Regions from separate parts of the Homo sapiens genome. Here regions 1, 2, 3, 5, 6 and 7 are each linked to region 4. Evidence: promoter capture Hi-C in 16 types of primary human blood cells and fetal thymus (Javierre and others, 2016). All regions are on one chromosome and are shown on one strand. Each heading gives the region's core, a stretch centred on a gene start or on the middle of the fragment in contact. The rest is flanking DNA. Distances are from core to core; before and after follow the strand shown.

Region 1 (3,341 bases), core at 619-3,118, 1.5 Mb before region 4:
CTCACTCTGTTGCCAGTCTGGAGTGCAGTGGTGCGATCTCAGCTCGCTGCAACCTCCGCCTCCTGGGTTCAAATGATTCTCTTGCCTTAGCCTCCCGAATAGCTGGGACTACAGGCGTTCACCACCACGCCCAGCTAATATTTTGTATTTTTAGTAGAGACGGGGTTTCACCATGTTGGCCAGGATGGTCTTGATCTCTTGACCTTGTGATAAGCCCGCCTCAGCCTTCCAAGTGCTGGGCTTACAGGCATGAACCAATGCACCTGGCCTACCAGAATATTTTTAAAGCTCCAACTGGAAACTACTCAAATGCCCAATAAGAACGAATGATCTACATACAGCTACATAGAATATAATATAGATGAAACTCACTAAGATAATGCTGAGTGAAAAAAGACACAAAATAGTAAGTGTAACATTTATAAATAGTACAAAAGTAGGCAAAATGCATCTAGTGTTAAAAGTCAGGAGACTGGTTCCTCTAAAGGGCAGAAGTGACTGAAAGGAACAAATCACACATTATTTCTATCTTGGTATGAGCATCTTGTATCATTCAATCCATAATTGATAAGTGTGGTTTCAATATCATAGAATACCTGTTACTGTGATACTTCCTGTTGAAAAAATCTGTAATGTAGCTCTTAGAGATTTTATCCGATAGCACACAGCAGGATGAAGTTCAGGTTCGTAACTACACAAAATAAGCCACAATTAATATAAATATTTATACCCTGACTAGTAATTTCAAATTTGGTAATTTCTCAAGATAAATTGCTTCAAAGACTTACCTGGCATGAGGTCTATTGTTCTTTGTGAATTCTGGCAAACGGATTTCAAATGGCATGTTACACACTGCCAGAACGTTAACAACCTTAAAATCTGTAAATATTACCTTTAGGAGAGAAGTAAAATTCAATAAATTTATTTTGAAACAAACAAACAAAAAATCTGCTCATAATGGCAATCCTTAAAAACAAGAGCAAACAAGATAAAACAAAAACATTTTAAGTGTATGTTTAGTACTGTAAGTTGTGTAGCATGGAAAGCTTTAATTCAGTTTTTTAAAAAGCTCAAAAACTCCATTAAAAAAATTAAAAACTGAGGTATTTGCATGATCAAAACAGTATGGGTCTTTCTAATCATATGTTTAATTTTTTAATACTTTAAGTGAAATATTTAAAACTACTGAGAAAGGAGAGAGAATAGTGAGGGAAAAAAAATTTAAGTCCAGGTCATCCTGCTAGAGTAAAAATGGAAAAGATGTCACTTTAAAGTCAGTAAATACAGAGTGTACACTGGGCTCCAAAAGTCAGATGTTTTTCTCATATGCAATAAGGCAAAATGACATTTCTGTGAGATTAGCTAGATGTTTATTTTCTTTCTGGGGATAGAGTGATAAATTTGTTTCTAACTAATTGGGATTTCTCTCAACACTTCTAATGTTACACTAAGAAAAGAAGTTCCAAGGCTGAAAATAATGCTGTTAACATTAATAACTTTGGCCACTCCAACCAACATCTTCGTTTCATCTCATTATCTTTTCAAACATTCCTCCTAAAACCACAATTTTGGGTGAGCGAACTATCCTTCAACTCAGCCTTGCACACAGCAGTTGCGCAAAGCCAGGAAACCGCAAAGTGGCAGCACTCTCAAATCACAGTACAACTCAAGCCTCTCTCTACTGCCACCCTTCTCAAGCACCAACCCCCACTCCCCACCAGCCGTTCAGTCTCTTCCTATCACCCTCTACTTCAGAGAGACTGAGTCATCAGAGGGAAAGGTAACTTCCTATCCCCACTTCTACAAACTTGTCTCAATCCCAAACAGCCTTGCCCTCATCTTCAGGGACCATTCTCATCTTTATCTTTCATTTATTCATCATTTGCAAGTGACCTAGCAAGTCCATAATATGTAATCGTTTTATTCAAAGGTATACCTCTATCAAGTTATAGTGATGAGGCTGACATGCCAGTGACAGTCACGTTACAAGTGTGAGAGCCTGCCAGCTGGTGTGTCCATGTCAACGGCCTCTGCCATTCTCTATTCACCATTCTGACCTGGCATTCTTGAGATGACCAAAAACCATTTTGTTTGTGTACGTCAGAGGTGAAAACACTTAAAAAAGAGTTGAAAAGGAAATTAACTTGTGAGGAAACAAGTCTCTTTATGGGAAAGGAATTAGGGAAAAAGCTAGGATCCTTTACAAATACCCACATAGCCAAATTTTGCTACTAATTTTCACACTGAAGGGCAGTATTAAAAAACCTAGAAAAAGTTTAATCATAAGAATAGTACGCATAGTGATTTCTTGAGTCTATTACAATTTTTAATTCTATAAAAATAAGTCCTTGAATATTTGTAGTTTAGATACTATTTGAAAACGTTACCTGAAAACCTAGTTTCTGCAGACTACGGGCTAAGCGTCTGGCACCAAATTTAGCTTCTTCTTCACTACGGTTTTAAGGAAAGAAAAAGATTATCAGTTACACAGGAAATAAATGTTATACTGAGGAACATAACAAACTTTACATATGATTTTGCTGTTAAGTCTAGGAAAATGTCCTTTCCATGAGGGAAAAAGTAAAAAATAAAAACAAAAAACCCAAGTAGCATTTACCTTGTTGCTCCAGTGCAAATAATTTTTCCTGAGGACCAAATTGTAGCTGTAATTCTAGGTTTTCTAAGCTTCATTAATACTTTCTGGGGGGAAAAAAAATCTGATTACCTCATAAGCATTATTTTTCACATAAGGTTCTGTTCTATATAGTCATATTAATGTCCAAATACTACTCTCCAAGCTTATCCAAGACTGCAATAACTGCTCTCCAAATCTACCATTCTGAAATCAAGTACAATACCAAACACAAAGAACATATTAATCCAAAAAGACATTTGATTAATTAAAAATACAAGGTGTATAGAAATCTCTCACTCTATATACTTGAAATCAATGTACTCCAAGTATATAAACAATTCAACTCTCATTCCACCCCAGTCATATAACTGGAACTTGCATGGTTCTTCACACACACCAAATCTGTTCATGCTTCAGAAGCTTTGCAGTAGCTGTTGCTTTCATTTGGAATATTATCCCCTCAATATTCTCACTTCATTCAGGTCTCTTACCAGATGTCACCTCCTGAAGAGAGGCCCTCCCTAATCATTTCCCTGAAACACCCATCCCTTCATTGCTTTCTAATTCCTAATTCTGCTTTCTGCTGCTTCATGGTACCCATCACTACTTTATATTGCATCCTAGAGTTGAGATGCTTATTACATACTCAAGTTCAACATCGGCATCTTGAATAAAGGAGAAATGTTGGAGCTGGAGATGTAATTGG
Region 2 (3,115 bases), core at 69-2,568, 1.5 Mb before region 4:
AGCCACTGCCACCATCCTCACTGGAAGGTGGGGCCTGTAGATCCTGCTACTTTGTGCTACAGCTTCTGATGCAAAATCCAGGGTGCATGAACTGCTTGGCAGAGCCTGGTCCTAAGAGAAAAGGGAGTATCAGGCCTTTCCAGCTTCTGTTTAGGAGACAGGTTCTTCCTTGCAGAGGGGGATTCCCAACACAGGAAGGATCTTCTGATCCTGGGCAGCCTAGAAGAAAATAAAAGCCCGTGACAAGCTCTAACATGTCCACCTGAGCTGAAATATAATGAGTTCATCTTCAGAAGCTGAGCACAAGGTTTCGCATTTCAGTAAGCTTTCTGCTCCAGATTTTCCCTGAGTTATTCAGATTATTTAAACTTGGAAAGTAGTCATTTTCTGTGCAGTGCCCTCCTTATTGTCTGGCAAACAAGGGACATGTAATGAAAGCAGACCAGAGTTCCCAACCCAATAACTACTGCTTGTTGTCATGTATGATCAAGCAACTTTTTCTGACTTCATGGTATCAAAGGCAGGTTAATCTCAAGGAAAGGTTTAATCATTGAACAGCTTTTTGTTAATGCCCTCCATCCAAGGGTCATGGCAATCGGACTGAGAGAGATTTTTAAGTTAAAAATACTTTATTTGGAAAAATAGCTAATCAAAGGAAGAACAGTGCTCATTCCACGTAGCTGGGCAGTACAAAGACAGACATGGGCCAAACTAATAGATATGACATTGGTGTGATTTAAAGGGAGATGATAATTTGAACAGCCCCATCAGTTGCCCAAATGTACCTTTGAGCAAATTAGAAAAAGCTGCCCTTTCTTCAGGTTAGTATTGTCATATTCTGGAAGATTTGCTTTATAAATAAGCAAACTTCTGCTGTCTGCAAATGAGAATGACCCACTTAGAGTTGTACTGTGTCCAAATTGCACAATGGTATATGGCAGCCCTAAGTATGAAGAAGTTTTCTTCAAATTTATATTTATTATATATACAATCTGATAGAAGCATTAAGCAAACAACTTTTAAGACAGTACTTTTTACACATGATTTACCACCTCAACCTATTAGTTATTTTCAGTTGTTCCAAGTTTCCTTCCAGTCTCTACCAATAGGCGCATATATTTTAAGAAAGTATTGTAATAGTAATGAGTATGCAACTTTCTGTATGCCACTTTGATTCTCCCACTTAAAATAATTGGAAAAACATTTTCTTGCATTGCTACATTGTCTTTCTTTTAATGATTTATCACATGTTATAGCAAGTGAACATACCATAATAAATTTAACCACACTTACTTTGTAATTTGAGGAACTTTAATCAACATGTTATGAGTGATAATATTCTACACCTAAGGAAAGAAGTCATAATGAAAACTTTCAGATAGAGAAGTTATTTAGATAGTATAAACAGTGAAATAATAAACATCCTTCCAAACAATCATACCAAGATGAATATTTTATTGCAATTAGGCTAAACAAGAAGTGAATTTGTATTTGGAATTTTTTTGTTTGCATAAAGACCATATTTTCCCATTTGTGTTTACACTGTAATGAACCATTGTAGAAGGTGCATTCCACATCAATGTGCACTGCAGGGTGCACTGCAGGGAAACAATACGGTGTAGTGAAAAGCATTTGGGTTTTGGAATCAAATGGACTTGAACTGCTGTGCTCTGAAATGTTATGTTCTGCATAAAAAGACTTGTGCAAGAGTGCTCATAACAGTTTTATGTGTAATAGCAAAGAATTGGAAACAGCCCAGATGTCCATCAATAGGAAAATGGATAAACTGTGGTGTATTCACCCATATAACACTATTCAGCAATAAACAAAATGAACTACTAATATACATAAAAACATGGATGGATATCAAAACTATGCTCAGTGAAAGACTCCTTACACAAGGCTGCATTCTCTGTGGTTCCATTATATGAATTAAGGTTTAGAACAAGCAAAGGTAATCTATGTGGAAAAATATCAGAAAATTGGTTGCTTCTGGAGCTTTTTTGTCTTGAAAAAAAGAACCTAGTATTGAACTCTATTTAATAATATGCATTCTGAAGTATTTCAACTTACTTTGATATGTATAAAAACTAATACGGATCGACTGATGGATGGAAGAATTGTTATATATAGATGTGAATGAGCAAGCATGGTAAAATGTCGAGTGTAGGTTTTCCTGTGGGATTCAAATTTTTATAATTCAACATTGGAAAATGTTTTGATCTTAGAAATGTTTCATAAACTTCTCGGTTTCAGTTTCTGCAAAATGGAAGTAACGGTATTTACTTCACAAGGTTTTTGTGAAGCTTTTAAAAAATTGCCATGAAAATAGGCATGCTCTATGGTAGATGTTTACGAGCCCTGTGAAGCTGCTTGTCTTTCATCCCCTCTTCCCCGCTGTGCCAGTTTATAAGTCAGGATAGGTGTTTTTGGATTTGGTAGCATTGCCTATGAGCAGTGGTCCAAAGTGGTATGTAGCAAAATTATTGGGGTTATGAAGAATGAACTGTCTGCTGTCTGCTGATTATGAATTCCTTGAGTGGAGGAACAGATTTTAATAATGGAAGTGGCTCAAACTCCAGGGAAGATGGATAGCCTGTGGTTATACTTGGTCTAAAGGAATTGGCAGAAACAGAGAGGAAGGACAAAATGTCATAGGCAATCATCATATGGATTTTAATATTTAAAAACTAAATAGTTATTTAGTCACTAAAAGCTCTATTTGTGAGCACTCATTTATCTAACAAATATTTATTAAGTGTCTACTGCATGCCTGGCATTGTGTTAGGAGCTGGACGAATGTGCAAGATAGAAATAGGTGCCTGCCCTCTTGGAGCATACATTCTAGTGTTGCTAAAGTTTATTGGATTTACAGGGATCAGTCTGTCAGCCAGCAAATACTTACTGAGTATTTGCTGAGTGCCAGACACGCAGAATACTATAATAAACTAAACAAACATAGTCCATACTCTCATAGAGTTTGCAATCTAGCAGAAAAGGCAGATTTAATTGAATCACCGCATTTAACTGTATTAAATACATTATGGTGTGCAAAAGGCTGGGAAGGAGAAGTACAGGGTTCGTAACAGAATTGAGGCAGAGTTTCCCCCCTCTA
Region 3 (3,262 bases), core at 731-3,230, 1.6 Mb before region 4:
CAGTTGCACTCTGTCACCCAGGCTGGAGTGCAGTGGCAGGATCTCGGCTCCTCCCGGGTTCAAGCAATTCTCCTGCCTCAGTCTCCCTGGTAGCTGATATTACAGGCACCTGCCACCATGCCCAGCTGATTTTTTTTTTTATTTTGTATTTTTAGTAGAGGCAGGGTTTCACCATGTTGGCCAGACTGGTCTCGAACTCCTGACCTCAGGTGGATCACCTTAGCCTTCCAAAGTGCTGGAATTACAGGCATGAGCCACCGTGCCAGGCCAAGTACTACATTTTAAAATTGCACTCTATAATGTTATGAAATTTTTACTACCACCAATAGTGTATGAGAAAGTCCCTTTACAAGTATACTTTCTAACAATTAATATTATCAAATTTTGAATTTTTTTTAATATTATGGGTGACACAGGCATGGTATTTTATTTCATTTCATAGAACTTTTCATAAAAATTTATGTTTGGTATCACTCTGATAAGCGGCAAGGTTGAGCATCTTTTATATGTTTGTTCAGCATTTATACCACCTCTTCTGTGAATTGTCTATTCTTATTCTCGTTTTTCTCTTATTTATGGATTATGAGTTCTTTGCTGATTTTGATATTAATCCATTGCCATGCATGGTCGTTCACACCTGTAATCTCAGCACTTTGGGAGGCCAAGGTGGGAGTCCAGGAGTTCGAGACAAGCCTAAGCAACATAACAAGACCCTATGTCTACAAAAATTAGCCAGATATGGTGGCACACACCTGTTGTCCCAGCTACTCCAGAGGCTGAGGTTAGGAGGATCACTTGAGCCTTGGAGTTCAAGGCTGCAGTAAATCATAATTGCACCGCTGCACTGCAGCCTGGGTGACAGAGGGAGACCCTGTCTCTAAATAAATAAATAAATAACATTGATTGTTATATATGTTACAAATATTTCCTCCCAGTCTTCTAGTTGTCTTTTAAACTTATTTGCAATGATGTTATGTAAAAGTTCAGAAATTTGATAAAATGGCATTTATTCACCATTTTTTAAGGCGTTAGCATTTTTATAATGTTTTAGAAGGTCTACTCTTAAGTATATTCTCCTTTTTGTTTTCTTTTAATAGGTTTGTTAAGTCTTTTGATTCGTTTGGAATTTTTGTAAATGCTGTGAAATATAGATCTATTTTTTTCAACACGGATTGGCAAATATCTGCTTTTAGAAAATTTATTTAGTTTCCTTTTGCTTAATTTTCCTTAAAGGAGAGGAAGGACTTTTTCCTCCGAATATCAGATCAATTAATCTTGAGGAAGTGCTGAGCCTGGCCTGGCTGGATCACATGTCCACCTGGGTGGCCAGGACAGCACAATTCCATGATTGGCAGCTGCCCCAAAGCTCATAGAATCAGTGTATGGGAGAAGTCCTCAAAATAAGGAACAATACTGTTCCCAAAGTCAGATAGGAAAAAACACTGAGTGGGGCTGGGCACAATGGAACATGCCTGTAATCTCAGAACTTTAGGAGGCCAAGACAGGAGGCTCAGTTGAGGCCAGGAGTTCAAGACCAGCCTTGGCAAACATACCAAGACCCCATCTGTACAAGAAAAAAAAAAAAGTCGGTCAGATAAAAATAATAAATGTTCACCATAGCCCTAAACAATCTCTTTTATCTTCTTGATAGCTTTCTTTCTGATCTTTTTGTTTGCTTCCATATAGATGAAGATAGTAATAATTTTAATAGGTAGCACTTACAGAGCACTTCTCTGTGCTGGGTTGTGCTCGCTGTTTTGCAGGAGTTCTTTTTAAAGATATGCCTTTGATGAAAAAAACTTCATCAAGCATTTTGAATACAGTTTAGATGTGAGAGAGAAGCTTGGGTTTTAAATTTTTTAAGTTCAAACATCCATTTTTCTAGTTAAAAAGAATGTACCAATCTAATACGCATGAGAGATGCTAATCAGAAAACGTGAAGGGCACAAGCCCACTCTTTGAGATTTTCACTGAAGAAAGTGAACATGTTAAAAAAATTCACTTTATTATTAATTTGCAAAACATATTATTAGTGATAAGCAAACGTTGGCACCCAGGTTAAAAGTTTAGCAAAATGATGTTTACAAAAACTGTGTAATGAAACAGAAAAAAGCTTAATGACAACATGCTGAAATTGTTAAAATTCTGAAGTTTGAATTCTGATTCTGTCACCTTGAAGCTGTGAGACTTTTGACTAAGTTACTTCATGTTCCCCGGTTTGCTCAACAGTAAAATAGGGGTGATAACAGTTCCTACCTCACAGGGGTGCTATAGGAATCTCAAGTGAGATAATGCACATGAAGCGCTTAGCCCTGCATCCAGCACGTTGTCAGCCATTGCTATTACAACCACCTTCATCATCTGTGAGTACAGCAAGCAAAACACTGCTTGGAAAAAAAATCAGAAGGAAATGAACCCATTGGAGACTGGCCAAAGAAGTACTCCTAAAAGCATAGCAAAAGGAATTCCAGAAGTTTACAATAACACAAGGAAGAAATTTACAGTTTGAAAATATAAATATCAGTTTAATAGTTAAGCTAAGTTTTAAATGTAATGCCTTATTTATTAAAGCCTTAAATTTAAGCCTGAAAGTTAGCGACATCTGCTGGAAGAAAGGTGAATTATTCAACTCACGTACCAAGCACCTGTCCTAATTCATTCAATTCAATACTTTATTGAGCAGGAATTTGGTATCAAATGCTTTCCTAGATTCTGTGGACAAAGTGATTAATTCCCATGCTCAAGGAATTTAGTCTTTCAGCTCAGGTATAAGCCACCTGTGCTTAAGAAGAAAAAAAGTGGACATTATCACCATGGATCTTTCAATTCTGTTAAAAAAATTAGATCTGTCGGCTGGGTACAGTGGCTAACACCTGTAATCCCAGCACTTTGGGAGGCTAAGGTGGGTGGATCACGAGGTCAGGAGTTCGAGACCAGCCTGGCCAACATGGTGAAACCCCATTTCTACTAAAAATACAAATATTAGCCAGGCATGGTGGCAGGCTCCTGTAATCCCAGCTGCTCGGGAGGCTGAGGCAGGAGAATCACTTGAAACTGGAAAGTGGAGGTTGCAGTAATCTGAGATCATGCCACTGCACTCCAGCCTGGACAACAAGAGTGAAACTCCATCATAAAAAAAATTAGATCTACAACCAAGAATAAATTAAGTAGCAATACAAAGCTGGTATATGACCAAATGTTAAAATAAAAACTATCAATAGTAGAGCCATAAGAGTTTAGGGAGAGACAGGATATAGCAACT
Region 4 (2,937 bases), core at 298-2,797:
AATTACAAGCTTTCAGTCATAGGTAACTTCTGCACATGGAAATGATTTATTTTGGGAGATGTGACATTATCACTCATCAAATTAGGAGACTTTTAAAGCCCTACCACTTTCAAGACACCTGGCTGAATTTAACTTGGTAGCAGCCAGATTCACAGATGGAATACTGTGTCAGGAACTCTTAGTAATTCATTTATCTTAATACTTCTAAATTTTGCAAGTTTGTCTAGACTATAATTCTTTTTTTTCCCATTTGAATACCAAAGGATGAAATCTTATTCTAAGTTTTCAAAAGACCTGGAAGGAATCCACTCATAACATATTTTAAAACAAGGAATTGGAATGAGCCCAAGATGAGGGCTCAGACAGCTAAGTTTTGGGCCCAGCATAGTCAGTAACTATCAGGGTAACTTGAAGAGGCCACTTAATCTCAGGTTCTTCTGTAGTGCATTGTACCTTCCCTCCCCGGAGCCCAGAGTTCTATCAAAGGTAATATGAATGGGTATTTGGAAAGTGCACTAAACCTCACATGGATGTAAGATCCTTTCATGTGTTCCTTCAATGATTGAAATGTTTCTTCCTACGTTCACCAGCCACTTCCTAATTCTCAAGTACAATGCACTACTTTCAGTTCTTTATTTACTTGAACTTTGTGTAACAGGTGACATCATGGACAATTCCCTCCTTTTTTCCTTCATTCTCTAGTTTACCTTTTCCTGGTTTATTTCCTATCTTGTGGGTTACTCGTTTTCAGGGTTATTCTTTCTCTGTCCATCTCTCTTAAGCAGACAACATTCCACACTTAGTGTTGGTGAGTTCCAATCAGAATTCTATCCTGGGTTTTGTTTTTTTCCACCTAAGTGCGTCTGGACTTTTGATATCACCTATCCGGGTAATCATTTTAGAAAATAGTGTTGCCTTAATATAGGCAAAGGCTAAGCCAATCTATCTTCTAATTAATTTGGAGAGGGCTTTCTTTCATTTGTAGCAATTGATGCTTTTCATCTAACAATTACAATATATTTGCATATTTATCATTGGAACTGTCTCTGCTTGTTTTAAACCCTGTGAAAACTACGCCCTGCTTTTCAGGAATGCTTAGAATGACTTGTATGTACTAGGAAAACTTGTTTACAAGTGAGCACCCAGAGATGACTCTTCACTTATTCCTTCATTGTTCCTGCTAGGATTGTGTACTCGCCTTTGCATTTTTCGATAGAGCTGTCAACGCGATCTACTGCAGTTAAAGGTTAGCAAACAAGACAGGCAAGAGCTAATGGGGCGGGGTGAAGACCCGCGTGCAAGAAGGCTGGCTTCACCAGATAAAGAAGACAACTGTCCTCCATTCTGTCCTTTTTTGCACGCAGGCTAAGAGGCGTTCACCATCTCTACGTCAGGCTTCAAAGAACAGCTCCCTTGCAATTTTGCTGATACCCCCATTCCTTAGCTTGGAACCGGAGGGGCGGTGAGGGCCGCTGTCACTCAGCCCCGCGGGCCAATAGAAAAGGGGTGAACCCCGCCTTCTTCCTGAGTTGTGCTGCGGGCATGCGCACTGGGCGTCCCCACGCCACCGCCCATCAGCTGAGAATTGCAGCTGAGGGCTCCGGGGTAGGTGGGTGACGGCGGTCGGAGGTGTAGGAGGGAGCCGTGGAGGTCCAGGTAAGAGGACCCTGGGGAGGGGGCTCCCTGGCCGGGCGACAGGGAGGCGCGGTGCCCCTGCGGCTGCTGCGCCTTCTTGTTTGTGCGCGTGGTCAGGTGGCCGCCGCCCTGCGCTCTGCAGCAGGCACTCGGGAGGCTAGGAAGGGCGGGACTGCCCCAGCTCCCGGAGCGCCTGCGGCTCCCCACGCCCCCCGGCCGGGTGCAAGGGCGCGGCGCGTTCCGCATTCCGGGTGCGCGCGGCTGTGGTCAGGTGGGCCTACCCAGCCACGCACCCGCCGCGGTCCCCTGGGCAGAGCTCCGGAGGCGCACGGCTGGCGGAGCGCACCCCGGGGAGGGCGCCAGAGCCGGCTGGGGCCCAGCTCAGGAATCCAGACACGACCAAATGACCTCTTCCTCTTTTCAACTCACGGATTGAAAAACACACTAAACTTCCCGAATATAGAGGAACTGAAAAATGTATGGCTGTAGCAGGCGAACCGTGTATGTTTATTTATTCAGAGGATCGTAGTATTGTTTTTTTAATTTGGCTTGATGACTTTAACATACTTTGACATTCTTTGAGTATACACCTTTAATTAATTTACATAAAAACCTTTAAACGTACATAAAATATTTCTAGTATTTCCTCCACCTTGTTTTCTAGTTACTTTCTTTAAATTCAGACAAAGAAAAAAAGTTGCATTTCTGATCAAATGCTGTGTGTTTTTTCCCACAAATTTCTTACATTTGTTTGGCTCTTATCTGTATACGTTAATTTTTGTTTACCTCAGATCGTTGTATTCTGACTATAATTATATATAATATATAAAACTTGCCCAGAATCTGGAAGAAAAGAAAGTAATTATGAAATGCTGTGCTATTTAATAATGTTGGAAGTGGACATTTCTTCTGCAGGTTCTCTGAGCACACCTGGGCAGAGGCTGATAACGGTGTTAAACTGTGTTTTGTGTTGTGGACAGGCCTTATAGGCTACTTTGAGAAGTTGGCCTCAGACTCGTGACTAGTTAAGAATTATGCTCTTAACTTCACAGTTTCTGTAGAGGTTAATATGATACCATATTAACTGATTAACATCATAATTTTTCCTCAGATATGTTACTTATGTTGCTCTTGATAACAAAATCAATCCTTATTTTGGTTATGACCCCAAACTTTAAGTGCTGATGATTGAAAAGTAAATTATAGAAAATATTCACAGTAAGTCTGAGTGAAGTTTGCTGTGATTCCATTTAATTTGCAAGTTTCATGTGTGAAAGTATGAAAAAAACAATCCTCGGTATT
Region 5 (3,170 bases), core at 279-2,778, 1.6 Mb before region 4:
AAGATTGTGGCAAACAGTATCTGAGGGATGTTTCCTCAACCACATCCAGAGAGAAAGCCTGTCCATGGTTATATTTATCGTTATATTTTGATGCTGGCCTTTCTGGTAGCAGAACTGTTTTGAAAGCCATAGTGAGCCAAACAGATCTTTCAGCAGGCAGCTGCCTGTACCACCAGAAGTCCCACTTGCAGGGGGAACATTAAGAATTGACTGTTTTGTAATTGGCCAGAGTCCCATCCTTCCAAGACTTCTTTCTGTCAACATATAATTATTGAGTTCCTGCGCTAAGTCTTCAATGAAGCATGAGGGGAAGGACGAGTTAAACTGTATGCTGTATTTCCTCTCCATTATCAATGCTGAATTTTAAACCAAACCACCAAAATGCCTATTATTTAAATTACAAATGCTATTTTATCCTGGGGAGCAGAATAAATTATTGGAATATTTATTCGCATTTTAAAAAAATTTTGTAGGGAACCTGAAGAATGGGATTGTTTTTTCCTCCTTTCACACCCTAAGAAATTAGATTCTGACTCTGTGCTCCCTGACGTCAGGATATTTTTATTGTTGAACTAAAAACAGAAGGTGGAACATGCTCAGAGTAAGCCCTTCCCTGCCTCACCAATCCTCCAGCTTGGCTTTTGTTCCAGGAATAGAGGACCATCAAGGGAGGCCTGTACTGTGGGTGGAGGAGCCAGAACTGACCAGACAAGGATGCAGGAGTATTGGTTCCAGAACCTGAGGAGAAACTGGCATTTAGGGGGTTCATGCTGAGTGGGTCCTTGTGCCCCAAGAGGACCTAAGACCTTCCTTATGAGGTGGCTCGTAACTGATAAAGGAACTGAATACTAATAATGAGTATTAATACTAATGTCAAGGGGAGTGTACTTATGTCAAGGGGAGTGTTTCCTGATGTTTCCTCCCACATGGAGGGAACTCCATGAGTCAAACACCTAATCTCTCTCCACCCATAACTGTTGGTCCTCCCAGGCAAGGAGAAGCCACTGCTCTGATGAATAGGTTGGCGGAAGGAACCAGGTCTGCACATCCCAGGTCTATTCCATTCTTCCTTGATCTCTTCTGCTATCAATTCTCCAGGCTCTGCCCTAAGGAACAAGGACTGCAGTTGCAGCCTTGGCTGGGCAGGTGAACCAGTCTATCTCTGGGGTTTGGTATTAGCAAACCATTCAGTCATCCTCCCCAGCCTAGTTTTCTCAGTATCTAAAGTGATATTTTGATCTCTACCTGCACTGTTCCCGCACCTGTCTCTCAATGGGTCCTTAACTCAAGTAGCAGAGAAAAGGAAGTGCCATGTATTGACCCCTTCAGACACCAACAACTAAGGATCATGGCCTTGGACACTGAGGTAACAATTCTTCCTGCCCACTTTGAATAAACCATTCAAGCATTCATTTATTTATTCAACAAATATGAATTGACTGCCCGAGATGTGCTAGGCATAGTTCTCAGCAGTGGAAATATGCCAGATGGGTGTCTCAACCCCAGCAATGATATAGTGAAGACAAGATGCCTTTTATGTGTTTGGGGGGCATCATGTAAGTCCTCAGATCCCTAATGACACTCCCAAAACATGACTGATGTATGTAATTTAGAATAAATAATACAATCGTTTGCACATATAAGTACTGTAGATCAAATTCATAACCACTACTAATAATTTAAATTTACTTAGAAAGGGTAGCTGTTCATTGAGGGAGCTAGAGGGCAGGATAGGAAGGGAAAAGATAGGACCTTTCCTTGAACTATATAGCGGTTATACGAACAACGTAAAAATTGATAATCTTTTCACCCACATCTATTCTATCACATGGAGAAAAAAATTCTAACCTCAAGTAAACTGGGTTCAAAATGAGAAAAGTAAAATGTTAAAAACAAAAAAGGCTAAGATACATCACTCTTTTCTCTTCATACAAAAATTTTTAAAGTTATTGAACAGAAAAATAAATTCATATATGTTGATTCAACACTTGTCAGATTTAAAGTAGTCTTTAAATAACTGGATGGCCAAAATACCATATTTCTAAGAAGGCTGTGTATTAGTGTGTTCTCACACTGCTAATAAAGACATACCCAAGACTGGGTAATTTATAAAGGAAAGAGGTTTAATGGACTCACAGTTCCACGTGGCTGGGGAAGCCTCACAATCATGGCAGAAGGCGAATGAGGAGCAAAGTCATGTCTTAATGGTGGCAGGCAAGAGGACATGTGCCAGGGACCTCCCTTTTATAAAACCATCAGTTCTCATGAGACTTATTCACTATCATGAGAAAAGTATGGGAAATACCTGCTCCCATGATACAATTACCCCCTACCGCATCCCTTCCACAACATTTGGGAATTATGGGAGCTACAATTCAAGATGAGATTTGGGCAGGGACACAGCTAAACCATATCAGGAATATTAATCTGACAGAATAACAAAAACCCCATAATCTCCTTCAAGATCTTTAAATGATCTATTGCAGTCCCCATACCTTGCTTATTTCGAAAACTCTAAAGGAAAAAGATTTTGAACCACAAACTAATAAAGATTATTATTATTCTCATTTATATTCCTTTTTTTTAGAAACAGGGTCTTGCTCTGTTGCCCAGGCTGGAGTGCAGTGGGACAATCAGAGTTCACTGTAAACCTTGAACTTCTGGGCTCAAGTGATCCTCCCACCTCAGCCTCCAGAGTAGCTGGGACTACAGGCATGCACCACCATGCCCTCCTAATTTTTTTAATTTTTTGTAGAGATGGGGTCTCATTGTGTTGGCCAGACTGGTCTTGAACTCCTAGCCTGTATTAGTCAGGGTTCTCTAGAGGGACAGGACTGATAGGATAGATGTATATACGAAAGAGAGTTTATTAAGGAGTATCAACTCACACAGTCACGAGGTGAAGTTCCACAATAGGCCGTCTGCAAGCTGAGGAGCAGAGAAGCCAGTCCGAGTCCCCAAATCTCAAAAGCAGGGAAGCTAACAGTGCAGCCTTCAGTCTGTGGCAAAGGCCCGAGAGCCCCTGGCAAACCACTGGTGTAGGTCCAAGAGTCCAAAAGCTGAAGAACCTGGAGTCCAGTGATCGAGGGTATGAAGCATCCAGCACTGGAGAAAAATGGAGGCCAGAAGATTTAGCCAGTCTAGTCTTTCCATGTTCTTCTGCCTGCTTT
Region 6 (3,054 bases), core at 284-2,783, 1.5 Mb before region 4:
TTGCACATGACAAGCATTCAAATGTAGCTGTTCTTATTGTTACTATTATTATATCTCCTTTCTTCATATGGATGGAGAAATGTTCAAAAATGGAAAGGATTTCTAGTTACTCACTGTAGTCCTCAAGCTTTGGAACACAAAAGCAAATCATATTCCTTCAAGTTTAAAAGTAAGTGGTAAAAATAAAGAATACAACTTTGATGTATCTGTTAAGTGAAATGAGTACTGAAAAAAGCACTAAATTTAACAGTGAATTAAAAAAAAAAACCCACAAAACTCCAACAATAACAAAACCATCAAATCAAAGCAAATAGTTGTTGATCATGGGGTTCTTTTTTGGTGGTGCTGAGGGGAGTGGGGACAGGGAAGGTGGCAAATGAAACAGGAAAAGACTGACCAAATCTACTACATGTTACGAAATAGGTATTATGCTAGATTTTACTTCATTAGGTACCTGCAAAAAAGCAGGAAAATTAGAAGCATAATGGGTTTGGATATTAAATTGTGATACAAGTTTATGATGTTCATTTCATTTAAATTGTAAGGTATTTGTTTTCTTGAGCAGGTCTTATATGTGCCCCTACTTCCCATATTACGGACTATAATTTTAAAAGCTAAAAAGTTTCATCTCTTTACTGAGAAGTTTGATATTTGTCCTAAGCTACTGTAAGTGACTATAATTTGTAAGACTAATTTAGCCATTAAATTAATGCTAACAAAACAGCATAATTTTTAAAAGATTATTAGTTTCATTTACAAGTGTAAATGTTAATTCACTAGGGTAGCTAAAAGACTGAATAAATCTTCTCATAAGTTGGTGTCAGAATTGGCATGCATCAAGATCAAGCCTCTCTATATTCTGATTTATTTCAAGGGTGTGAATGCAGGGCTCAAACTTGAAGCACTGATAACTCATCAAGAATTTAATCAAGAGAAAGTACTGCATGGGGAAAATACAACGGGTGAAACTTCCTATTTTCATAGTTTCGACTGTTTTTATAGAGTTACCCCTCATATAAAATGCTCTAGCATAGACAACCTGTTTAAGGTCTATGTCATGCACAAATGCCATTTTAAGAAAAGGAAGGTCAGATTATGAAATTAGTTACTTGGGAAAATAAAACAGAGTTCGGCCGGGCATGGTGGCTCACACCTGTAATCCCAGCACTTTGGGAAGCTGAGGCGGGTGGATCACGAGGTCAGGAGATCGAGACCATCCTGGCTAACACGGTAAAACCCCATCTCTACTAAAAATACAAAAATTAGCCTGGAGTGGTGGCAGGCACCTGTAGTCCCAGCTACTCGGAGGCTGAGGCAGGAGAATGGCGTGAACCCGGGAGACGGAGCTTGCAGTGAGCCAAGATGGTGCCACTGCACTCCAGCCTGGGAGACAGAGTGAGACTCCATCTCAAAAAAAAAAAAACCCAAAAAACCCAAAAAAACAAAACAAAACAAAAAAAACAAACAGTTCAAACATTTCTGGTTTAAAAAACAGTACAAAATATACTTAAAACAAACATGATTACATAATGAACACTCTTTCCACATGTAAGCACCATTAGGAATTTCTTATTTTACTCAGAGCTTGTCAGATCTGAGTAACTGGTTGAAGGGTGCGTCACTCAAAAAGGATAAACACAGAGAACTTGGCTAGAGATCAGAAGAAAGCCATACATTTTTAAAACCTGAAATTATGGTCTGTGAGAAAGTCAAGAACACTACCACAACAGTAGGGTGAGTAATTTAATGATAATATACAAGTAAAAGAATGGGTTCTTACACAGAACACACAAGAGTGATAAGGAAGTTTTCTGATTGGAACATTGGTTCTTTTTTTTGAGACGCAGTCTTGCTCTGTCGCCCAGGCTGGAGTGCAGTGTCACGATCTCGGCTCATTGCAACCTCCGCCTCCCAGGTTCCCACCATTCTCCCGCCTCAGCCTCCCGAGTAGCTGCGACTACAGGCGCCCGCCACCACGCCTGGCTAATTTTTTTTTTTTTTTTTGTATTTTTAGTAGAGACGGCGTTTCACCACGTTAGCCAGGATGGTCTCGATCTCCTGACCTTGTGATCCGCCCGCCTCAGCCTCCCAAAGTGCTGGGATTACAGGCGTGAGCCACCGCGCCAGGCCGGTTCTTAACGATCAAGAAAAAGACAAGGACAGGCCTGGTGGACTCATGCCTGTAATCCCAGCACTTTGGGAGGCCAAGGTGGGCAGGTTGCTTGAGCCAGGAGTTACAGACCAGACTGAGCAACATGGTGAGACTCTGTCTCGACAAAAAAATACAAAAATTAGCCAGATGTGGTGGTGTGTGCCTATAGGCCCAGCTACTCAGGAGGCTGAGGCAAGAGGATTGAGCCTGGGAGGTCAAGGCTGCAGTGAGTTATGATCACACCACTGCACTCCAGTCTGGGCTATAGAGTGAGACTATGTCTTAAACAAATAAAAAGACCAAAAGACAAAACAACAGAAACAAGATAATAACTATGAAGATGCTCAAATCCCACAAATACAGATTTAATTGACCTTGATAGGGCCCTAATTTTGAAAATATTTCCAAGATGTTTCTAATGGGTAGTCAGTTGAGAACGACTGGGTTGAAACACCATCATAGGGTAATTAAAATAATGGAATTTCCCTCTCCATAAATCCTTAAAAAGGGCTCTATTCTTCTATCAGTACTGTTTTTCAGAGAACATCAAGACTTCTACATTCTGTTTACCATCCCTTGTTTCCCAAACTCCACTTCATGCTTTTAAACCAGCATAATCTGTCTTCTGCCTCTACACAGTACAAAATGTTACAAATGAATGGCTCATTGCTGAATTCAATGGCACACTTTAAACTCCCTCCTACTCTAGAGCATAAAGCACTGGGAACTTCTGATTCTCCAACTGCTCCCTTGCCATGTCCTATCCCTGGATTCTGAAGAAGCTTTCTTGAATTCTCTCCCCATCTCATATACTTCTCTGTCTGTTCCTTAAATCAGAAGTTCTTAACTGAAATCCATGCCAGACCCTGAAAAGCTCAACAATAGGTTCCACAGGTTAGGAA
Region 7 (3,228 bases), core at 721-3,220, 1.6 Mb before region 4:
AACTTTAAAACACAATTGGAAAGTTAATACAAAATCTCAAGTAGAAGTATGCAATTGCTTTTAGAAAATATTAATGTATTAATAGGCACTAGAATACAAGCAAAAATTATACTTCTGAAAAAAAAGTCACCAAATTCATTTTGTCAGTATTAATGGGACATGATATTTTAAGTGAAATTAATGTTATAAACAAAAGAATTCAGTGTACATAATGCCTTTGAAATCATCAAAGGCAAGAAGAAAGTCTTTGAGGAAAAACAAATTGTGTTTATGATATCTAATTGACACCAAATGGCAGTCTATTGATATTAATGCCAACTTGTCTACATAGAAAATACTAGAACTATTATGATTTTTCTCAACACAAAGTCTGTTCCACCTATGAGCCAAAGCTAAAAGTCAATATCAATTCTTTGTTTACGTTAGATATAACAGCACTATTTTTAAAAGAAAACGTGGCTGGACGTGGTGGCTCACGCCTATAATCCCAGCACTTTGGGAGGCCGAGGCCGGTGGATCACAACGTCAGGAGTTCCAGACCAGCCTGGCCAACATGGTGAAACCCTGCCTCTACTAAAAGTACAAAACTTAGCTGGGCAGGGTGGTGTGCACCTGTAATCCCAGCTACTTGGGAGGCTGAGGCAGGAGAATTGCTTGAACCTGGGAGGTGGAGGTTGCAGTGAGCCAAGATTGTGCCATTGCACTCCAGCCTGGGCAACAGAGCAAGACTTCATTTCAAAAAAAAAAAAGAAAAGAAAATGTTACTATATCAAAAGAACATCCTGGTCTCTTCAATGCAAGATGACCAGTGTTATCTGCAGAACTACTATAACTATGTAACTCAAATGACACATTTACAATTTAAATTGACTGTTGACCATAGTAAGGAATTCCATATTGATGGGCACCAACACAGAAGCTTTTCCTAAAACCTATGATAAATCTCATTGGAGTGCAGCATAATTTTGAGGGACAATTTCCTAGATGGATTTTTTAAAACTTTCTTTTAATTTTACAGAATAGATGTAACTTAGCCAAAATTGGTCACCAGTGGAGAATGTGGCTTCTCAAAATTAAAACTTATCAAAAGTGACATAATGTCTATAGTGTCACAAGAATGCCCAATCCAGTAACCATTTTTGAAGGAAAAAGTTATTGGAGCAAGTAAACTGAAACTATCAAAATGAATTTCCTTCCTATAAAAGAAATATATATAATAATTTTATAAGAAATTGTTATAGTCCAATGACTTTGGGTGCCCCATTACTCCAATTAAAATGTAGACTTTTATGTCAGTTGACTTGGTTTGCATAAAATATACAAGATGACACCATATTTCTGTAACTATTATCATCCCTTCCTCCAAGCGCATGCCCATATCCATGGCAGCTACAGCTTAATTCCTTGATGTGCCTAATCTTCCAAACAAAATGGTGAAGCTTTCTTCAGCAAAATTCCTAGAAAACGAAGAAGTTTAAGAGTAGTTTTGTGCTTATTTAGAGCTAGAGGACAGTGCAGAAAAACATATCTCCCAGAAATCTAAGCCTTATTTATTATTATTATTTTTTTAGACAGAGTCTCACTCTGTCACCAGGCTGGAGTGGAGTGGCGCGATCTCGGCTCACTGCAACCTCCACCTCTCGGGTTCAAGTGATTCCCCTACTTCAGCCTCCTGAGAGCCTTACTTTTTTCTAACAAATATCAGTAGGGGTGGAAAAGTTGCTTTCCTTCCTTCTAGTCTAACATAACAAGCACTACAGATTATCCAGTAACAAAAATATTTAGCACCTCTCCTGACAAAAATAACAGCCAGAGATAGGAATATGGTAACTGGAGAAGGGTGCCATCAATGAAACAGAAATTTCAAAGAATTCCTGGGAAATAGACATCATATGGGCATATATTGATGAAGTGTTCTGTGAAGAGAAGCCACAAACCAAAATAGCTGAGAGAGGGACATGTACACAGACTGGAGCTTTTTTCCTAATGGTGCGCCAGGGATACCCGCAGTTCCCAGCCTCTGTGGACAGCTTTAGGTGTAGCCACAAGGTCATGAAAGAACCCAGCACTCGGTGGTTACCCCAACTCACGCTCCCACTACCCTGAAAGACTAAATTTACTAATGTACAATTGCCAGACTGTATTTAACAATATAATTCAGACCCACAACCTGCAGCAATGTGCCCAGGAAACCAGCCCCCTTATCTACAATAAACAGCCCAGGAAGCCAGTTTGCTACCTCTGGTAACCGTCCAGGAAGCTAAACAAGAACTTCTGCCACAACTGGCACAAAATGTCCAGGACTTGGTTAGTAACTGGCAGCCTCCCTAATTTTTGTTCTCACTTCCAACTTAGGACCAACCTGAGAAAGCCAATTATATGCCCCCAGCCAATCACACGGGATGCCCCACTTCTCAATAGACACTTTCAGCTTCCCCCTGCCAACAGCCTGCAGTCAGGGCACACCTGAAGCCTTGTGTTTCCCCTCACTATGAAGCTTTTCTGCTCCTCTGCCTGCCTTGTAGTCTCTGCCAAACATAGGTGATGGTGGCTGACTTCCTTGCTACAGCAAGCTCTGGATAAATAGCTTCTGCTTTTCTCATTTAGTTGGTCTTTGTTTATTTCCACAACCCAGGCTGGGTGCAGTGGCTCACACCTGTAATCCCAACACTTTGGGAGGCCAAAGGGGGAGGATCCCTTGAGTCCTGGAGTTCAAGACCAGCCTGGGCAATGTAGGGGTACTCCACCTCTACAAAACAAACAAACAAAAAATTAGCTGGGTGTGGTGGCATGCACCTGTGCTCCCAGCTGCTTGGGAGGCTGAGGCAGAAGAATTGTTCGAGCCTGGGAGTTTGAGCCTGCAGTGAGCCATAATCCCGCCACTGCATTTCAGCCTGGGTAACAGAGCGAAAACCTGTCTCAAAAAAATAAAAAACAAAATAAAACAAAAATAAATAAAAATTAAAACATAGTTCCACAACCCCAAAACAGATCTCAAAGATAAGTGGGTTTCTGCTCTAGAGAGCTCCCACATGGAGGCCAACAGATGCAGATGAAAGCCCAAGGTAACTTCCAACTTGACCACAGGGCCCGGTGGGAATAAAAGTCAAGTTTGCTTCTCCTGAAAATGAAATGCAGCAAAGGCCTCCACTTCAGGAAAGTCTTTCCTTGGCAACAGTGAGGATTTGTTATGGCCTGCTCACTACCCATAAAGGCATCATAGGGTCT

Evidence for each region. The method cuts DNA at HindIII sites, captures the fragments that hold promoters and counts their contacts. A CHiCAGO score of 5 or more calls a contact.
Region 1: a contact is called between a fragment that was not itself captured here and the fragment with the promoter of STX7 in region 4, in 2 of 17 cell types (naive CD4 T cells and naive CD8 T cells). The highest score is 6.8, in naive CD4 T cells.
Region 2: a contact is called between a fragment that was not itself captured here and the fragment with the promoter of STX7 in region 4, in 1 of 17 cell types (naive CD8 T cells). The highest score is 5.7, in naive CD8 T cells.
Region 3: a fragment that was not itself captured here is called in contact with the fragment with the promoter of STX7 in region 4 in 2 of 17 cell types (total CD4 T cells and total CD8 T cells); the score reaches 6.2 in total CD4 T cells.
Region 5: a contact is called between a fragment that was not itself captured here and the fragment with the promoter of STX7 in region 4, in 2 of 17 cell types (naive CD8 T cells and non-activated CD4 T cells). The highest score is 5.8, in naive CD8 T cells.
Region 6: a fragment that was not itself captured here is called in contact with the fragment with the promoter of STX7 in region 4 in 7 of 17 cell types (naive CD8 T cells, naive B cells, activated CD4 T cells and 4 more); the score reaches 7.2 in naive CD8 T cells.
Region 7: a contact is called between a fragment that was not itself captured here and the fragment with the promoter of STX7 in region 4, in 5 of 17 cell types (M0 macrophages, naive CD8 T cells, total CD4 T cells and 2 more). The highest score is 8.1, in M0 macrophages.

The regions. Positions count from the first base shown.
Region 1 is chr6:133,981,927-133,985,267 of GRCh38, reverse strand. TBPL1 (TATA-box binding protein like 1) reads right to left here. Exons shown (of 7, transcript NM_004865.4): 3 at 2,618-2,700; 4 at 2,388-2,451; 5 at 789-892; 6 at 597-691. Among named protein-coding and RNA genes, the nearest start is that of TBPL1, 30 kb to the right of the region's middle. RefSeq lists an enhancer at 1,634-1,803. The HindIII fragment of the contact is 1,639 bases long and covers 1,049-2,687 here.
Region 2 is chr6:134,054,759-134,057,873 of GRCh38, reverse strand. No RefSeq gene overlaps it. Among named protein-coding and RNA genes, the nearest start is that of SLC2A12, 3.7 kb to the right of the region's middle. The HindIII fragment of the contact is 1,981 bases long and covers 328-2,308 here.
Region 3 is chr6:134,123,118-134,126,379 of GRCh38, reverse strand. No RefSeq gene overlaps it. Among named protein-coding and RNA genes, the nearest start is that of SLC2A12, 72 kb to the right of the region's middle. The HindIII fragment of the contact is 271 bases long and covers 1,845-2,115 here.
Region 4 is chr6:132,511,726-132,514,662 of GRCh38, reverse strand. It overlaps STX7 (syntaxin 7), which reads left to right and starts at 1,547. Exons shown (of 10, transcript NM_003569.3): 1 at 1,547-1,656. RefSeq lists enhancers at 1,241-1,440, 1,798-2,299 and a silencer at 1,591-2,080. The HindIII fragment of the contact is 4,830 bases long and covers 12-2,937 here.
Region 5 is chr6:134,085,730-134,088,899 of GRCh38, reverse strand. It overlaps LOC124901404 (a long non-coding RNA gene), which reads right to left. Exons shown (of 3, transcript XR_007059774.1): 2 at 2,889-3,105. Among named protein-coding and RNA genes, the nearest start is that of SLC2A12, 35 kb to the right of the region's middle. The HindIII fragment of the contact is 7,307 bases long and covers 1-3,170 here.
Region 6 is chr6:133,962,825-133,965,878 of GRCh38, reverse strand. The region is part of intron 1 of TBPL1 (TATA-box binding protein like 1); the gene reads right to left. The region is part of intron 1 of LOC128092253 (umcharacterized LOC128092253); the gene reads right to left. Among named protein-coding and RNA genes, the nearest start is that of TBPL1, 11 kb to the right of the region's middle. RefSeq lists enhancers at 1,037-1,206, 2,825-2,994. The HindIII fragment of the contact is 2,807 bases long and covers 130-2,936 here.
Region 7 is chr6:134,102,241-134,105,468 of GRCh38, reverse strand. The region is part of intron 2 of LOC124901404 (a long non-coding RNA gene); the gene reads right to left. Among named protein-coding and RNA genes, the nearest start is that of SLC2A12, 51 kb to the right of the region's middle. The HindIII fragment of the contact is 1,058 bases long and covers 1,442-2,499 here.